2 separate regions of the Homo sapiens genome follow, and region 2 is linked to region 1. The links are contacts of gene promoters, found by promoter capture Hi-C in human tissues and cell types (Jung and others, 2019). All regions are on one chromosome and are shown on one strand. Each heading gives the region's core, a stretch centred on a gene start or on the middle of the fragment in contact. The rest is flanking DNA. Distances are from core to core; before and after follow the strand shown. Region 1 holds the start of PRKAG3 (protein kinase AMP-activated non-catalytic subunit gamma 3). Region 2 has its middle 13 kb from the start of CYP27A1.

Evidence for each region. Contacts are between HindIII fragments. The study calls those that stand out against the background at their distance.
Region 2: a contact is called between a fragment that was not itself captured here and the fragment with the promoter of PRKAG3 in region 1, in 3 of the 25 tissues and cell types used here (H1 embryonic stem cells, aorta and bladder).

What each region holds. Positions count from the first base shown.
Region 1 is chr2:218,830,422-218,833,343 of GRCh38, reverse strand. PRKAG3 (protein kinase AMP-activated non-catalytic subunit gamma 3) reads left to right here and starts at 1,541. Exons shown (of 14, transcript NM_017431.4): 1 at 1,541-1,606; 2 at 1,969-2,008; 3 at 2,443-2,598. The coding sequence starts at 1,574. The HindIII fragment of the contact is 8,490 bases long and covers 1-2,922 here.
Region 2 is chr2:218,767,242-218,770,163 of GRCh38, reverse strand. No RefSeq gene overlaps it. Among named protein-coding and RNA genes, the nearest start is that of CYP27A1, 13 kb to the left of the region's middle. The HindIII fragment of the contact is 7,453 bases long and covers 1-2,922 here.

The DNA.
Region 1 (2,922 bases), core at 292-2,791:
TCCACTCTCCTATGTAGCCTCTGGCTTTTCCTGCTGGGAAGCTGTTGTTTATCCAATATCCTTTGTCCCACACTGGCAAACTTGTGCTTTCTGCAGTCCTTCCAGCCTTCACAGCCCTCTTCCTGCTGGTGCGGATTTGGAGGGCTGGGAATAAGGCAAGGGAAGGGGTGTCAAACCAGGCTTTGCTGATCAGGCTTATGGTTTCTTTGCCAATACAACACCCTCACAATCTTAGAAGCCTTCTGAGTGGCTCCATGTTTGAGTAACCACAGCCAATGGCCTCATGTAGACCTTATTTTTATGCTTGAACACTCTGGACTTGGTGTTCTTCCTACTCTCCTTTCTCTCAAACTGGTGGTGGCTATCTTGAGTCCATTTGAAAAAACATGCTTGGTGTGAAGGAAATTCTCTTACACTGATCTCTGTCCTCTGAGCCAGTTCCCACTGTCCAGTGAGCAGATGTCCTTGAGAAAGGCTGGGGACCACAGGAACAGCCCTGGCCAAGGCTGTCCTCCCAACTCCATTCTCCTCCACCCTCCCCATTGGCAGAGTAGGAACATTGAGGGTTGATGGAAAACACATGTAATAAACTCAGACAGAAATTCACCAGTCTGTTGTTGAGTGTCCACTCCAGGGCCAGGGCTGGGATGGAAGAGGCTGGAAGGAGGAGAGAAAGGGAGGGGCAGAGAGAGGAAAGCCGGAGCAGCTGGGTCAGCATTCCCAATCCGGACATTGACTCAGGCTCCGGGAATGCCAAGGAAGAGGGTGGCAGCTACTGGAGCCAGGCTGGGATCCTGTTGGCACCAGGGATGTAGGCACAGCACTCACAGAGGGTTGGGGGCTGGGACACCTGCACACCCAGGCATATCTCCCAACCACAGGTGGAAACAGATGTCTCTTCCCCTGCGGGGAGCTCTGAGTGCTCCCCACGCCTTCGAGGTGATTCTCACAGCTCTTCACCTGCCTGAAACACCCACTCCATCTCCTTCACCTGAGAGAGGGACACACTCCAGGGACTCAAATCTGGACATCTGGACATACACTAGCTGCTCTCCTGGACTACCCACAAACCCCTTGCCTCATCTCCAGCCTCTGAGCTGGCTGCAACTTGCCCTTTCTAACTCCAGCACCACCCTCTACTGAAATTAGAACAAGGAAGAAAGTTATGCTGATCTGCCTCCATGTTCCCTTCTTTGGTGCCTGATAAAGATGAGGGAGGCTCTTGGAATAGGGGCTCAGGACTCTGAGAGCCCAACTCTGCTCAATGACCATGTTCCCACATGCTCCAAGCCACATCCCCTCAAAAAGGGTCCCTCTAGCTTGTCCTCAGTGACCCAGGAGGCAGCTGAGGACCAAGTACCCAGATTATCCGGTGCGCCCCTTCCCTCCCAGCAACCCCCAGCCTTCAGGGCTGTAGCAGCTGAGCAAATGGGGGCCCCTCCCTCTCATTGCCTGACACCCAATCAGAGAGAAACCGATCCTGGCAGGGCAGGGTGCCCGGGGCCGGGCCCAGAATAGTGCAGCCCAGCCACAGTGTCGCACACTTGCTCTCAGTTGGTCTGGGGCTGGCCACATGGAGCCCGGGCTGGAGCACGCACTGCGCAGGGTATGGGGGTCCCAGGGGAGCCGGAGCCGGGGCAGCTGAGGCCAGAAGATTGAGCGCACGGGCTGTGAATGTGTGTGTGGGCGTGTGTGTCTTCTGGTGTGTGTTTGGTCTGGATTTTCTCGTGAATATGGGCATGTGCATGTTTGGGCATATGTATTGTGAGTGTGTGTGGTTCTGTGTGCCTGGGAGTGTTTGGATGTGTGTGTTTCTGTGTGTGTTTGTGTATGGCTGCATGTCTGTGTATGGCGTGTGTCTGAGCGTGTGTATTGGTGTGCATGGGTGTGTAGGCGTGTGTTCAGGGAGAAGGGGTTTGGGAATGTAAGGCACTTTCCCCACTCCTTCAGAAACTCTTCTCCCCACAGACCCCTTCCTGGAGCAGCCTTGGGGGTTCTGAGCATCAAGGTAGGGAGAATGCCCCCTCCCTGGGGCCTAACCTCTTCCCCCACCTCCTTGTCCCCCACTTTTCTGGGACCCCAATTCCCTCCCAGCCTGGCTTTTATCTTCCTCCTTTTGGTCTTTCTTCCTCATTGTTCTTCCTCCTTTCCCCAGGTGTGTTTCCCTCACCTCCAATTTCCTCTTTTCAGAAGTGACTTTCCCACTTACTTGCTGTGTGATTTGCAGCAAATTGCTTAACCTCTCTGAATTTCTGGTCCCTCACTAGCAAAATAGGGATGATAATAATGCCTGCTTTATAAGGCTGCTGTAAGTTTTAAATGAGAAATATGTTGGAGAAAAGCCCATTGGAAGCTTGCAAATCCTAAAGATTATGAATAACATTTGAATTGATTTTGATGCATTACTCCCTATTAACCAAACAGGCCCCATTCCCCTTCCAGAGATGAGCTTCCTAGAGCAAGAAAACAGCAGCTCATGGCCATCACCAGCTGTGACCAGCAGCTCAGAAAGAATCCGTGGGAAACGGAGGGCCAAAGCCTTGAGATGGACAAGGCAGAAGTCGGTGGAGGAAGGGGAGCCACCAGGTCAGGGGGAAGGTGAGGCCAAGGCCAGTTCTGGGGAGGTGGGAGCCAGGGGAGTGGGAAATCCCAGAGGAGCCTGGGTCTGGTCTCTACCTCAGGTCCCTCCATAACACAGAGTTGGACCCAACCTTCATCTTGTGGCCTCAGTCTCCCTACATAGTAGAGAACAAGGCACTGCAGTGCCAGAGGCCAGCATGGCCAACTCAGAAAGATGGGACAGAGCCACTACCTGGGGCGACTCTCAGGTCAGCCCCTCACCTGCAAATAGGGCCACAGCATCCAGGCTTCCCACTGCTGCTGTGAGATGAATGGCGACAGCAGATGAGAACGTGCTTTGGA
Region 2 (2,922 bases), core at 285-2,784, 63 kb after region 1:
ACATCTGCAGAACTCTCCACCCCAAATCAACAGAATATACATTCTTCTCACCACATAGCACTTATTCTAAAATTGACCACATAATTGGAAATAAAGCACTCCTCAGTAAATGTAAAAGAACAGAAATCACAATAAACTGTCTCTCAGACCACAGTGCAATCAAACTAGAACTCAGGATTAAGAAACTCACTCAAAACCACAAAACTACATGGAAACTGAACAACCTGCTCCTGAATAACTACTGGGTAAATAACGAAATGAAGGCAGAAATAAAGATGTTCTTTGAAACCAATGAGAACAAAGACACAATGTACAAGAATCTCTCGGACACATTTAAAGCAGTGTGTGGAGGGAAATTTATAGCACTAAATGCCCACAAGAGAAAGCAGGAAAGATCTAAAATCAACATCTTAACATCACAATTAAACGAACTAGGGAAGCAAGAGCAAACACATTCAAAAGCTAGCAGAAGGCAAGAAATCACTAAGATCAGAGCAGAACTGAAGGAGATAGAGACACAAAAAACCCTTCAAAAAATCAATGAATCCAGGAGCTGGTTTTTTGAAAGAATCAACAAAATTGATAGACCGCTAGCAAGACTAATAAAGAAAAAAAGAGAGAGGAATCAAACAGGTGCAATAAAAAATGATAAAGGGGATATCAACACCGATCCCACAGAAATACAAACTACCATCAGAGAATACTATAAATTCCTCTACGCAAATAAACTAGAAAATCTAAAAGAAATGGATAAATTCCTGGACACATACACCCTCCCAAGACTAAACCAGGAAAAAGTTAAATCTCTGAATAGACCAATAACAGGCTCTGAAATTGAGGCAATAATTAATAGCCTACCAACCAAAAAAAGTCCAGGGCCAGATGGATTTACAGCCAAATTCTACCAGAGGTACAAAGAGGAGCTGGTACCATTCCTTCTGAAACCATTCCAATCAATAGAAAAAGAGGGACTCCTCCCTAACTCATTTTATGAGGCCAACATCATCCTGATACCAAAGCCTGGCAGAGACACAACAAAAAAAGAGAATTTTAGACCAATATCCCTGGTGAGCGTCGATGCAAAAATCCTCAATAAAATACTGGCAAAATGAATCCAGCAGCACATCAAAAAGCTTATCCACCATAATCAAGCCTGCTTCATCCTGGGATGCAAGGCTGGTTCAACATACACAAATCAATAAACATAATCCATCGCATAAACAGAACCAAAGACAAAAACCACATGATTATCTCAACAGATGCAGAAAAGGCCTTTGACAAAATTCAACAGCCCTTTGTACTAAAAACTCTCAATAAACTAAGTACTGATGGAACGTATCTCAAAATAATAAGAGCTATTTATGACAAACCCATGCCAATGTCATTTTGAATGGGCAAAAACTGGAAGCATTTCCTTTGAAAACTGGCACAGGACAGGGATGACCTCTCTCACCACTCCTATTCAACATAGTGTTGGAAGTTCTGGCCAGGGCAATCAGACAAGAGAAAGAAATAAGGGGTATTCAATTACGAAAAGAGGAAGTCAAATTGTCCCTGTTTGCAGATGACATGATTGTATATATAGAAAACCCCTTGTCTCAGCCCAAAATCTCCTTAAGATGATAAGCAACTTCAGCAAAGTCTCAGGATACAAAATCAATGTGCAAAAGTCACAAGCATTCCTATATACCAATAACAGACAAACAGAGAGCCAAATCATGAGTGAACTCCCATTCACAATTGCTTCAAAGAGAATAAAATACCTAGGAATCCAACTTACAAGGGATGTGAAGGACCTCTTCAAGGAGAACTAAAAACCACTGCTCAAGGAAATAAAAGAGGACACAAGCAAATGGAAGAACATTCCATGATCATGGATAGGAAGAATATCATGAAAATGGCCATACTGCCCAAGGTAATTTATAGACTTAATGCCATTCCCATCAAGCTACCAATGACTTTCTTCACAGAATTGGAAAAAACTACTTTAAAGTTCATATGGAACCAAAAAAGAGCCCGCATTGCCAAGGCAATCCTAAGCAAAAAGAACAAAGCTGGAGGCATCATGCTACTTGACTTCAAACTATACTACAAGGCTACAGTAACCAAAACATCATGGTACTGGTTCCAAAACAGATATATAGACCAATGGAACAGAACAGAGGCCTCAGAAATAACACCACACATCTACAACCATCTGATTTTTGACAAACCTGATAAAAACAAGAAATGGGGAAAGGATTCCCTATTTAATAAATGGTGCTGGGAAAACAGGCTTAGCCACATGTAGAAAGCTGAAACTGGATCCCTTCCTTACACCTTATACAAAAATTAATTCAAGATGGATTAAAGACTTAAATGTTAGACCTAAAACCATTAAAACCCTAGAAGAAAACCTAGGCAATACCATTCAGGACATAGGCATGCGCAAGGACTTCATGACTAAAACACCAAAAGCAATGGCAACAAAAGGCAAAATAGACAAATGGGATATAATTAAACTAAAGAGCTTCTGCACAGCAAAAGAAACTACCATCAGAGTGAACAGGCAACCTACAAAATGGGAGAAAATTTTTGTAATCTACCCATCTGACAAAGGGCTAATATCCAGAATCTACAAAGAACTTAAGCAAATTTACAAGAAAAAAAAAACCCCATCAAAAAGTGGGCAAAGGATATGAAAAGACACTTCTCAAAAGAAGACATTTCTGCAGCCGACACATGAATAAATGCTCATCATCACAGTCATCAGAGAAATGCAAATCAAAACCACAATGAGATACCATCTCACACCAGTTAGAATGGCGATCATTAAAAAGTCAGGAAACAACAGATGCTGGAGAGGATGTGGGGAAATAGGAACACTTTTCCACTGTTGGTGGGACTGTAAATTAGTTCAACCATTGTGGAAGACAGTGTGGC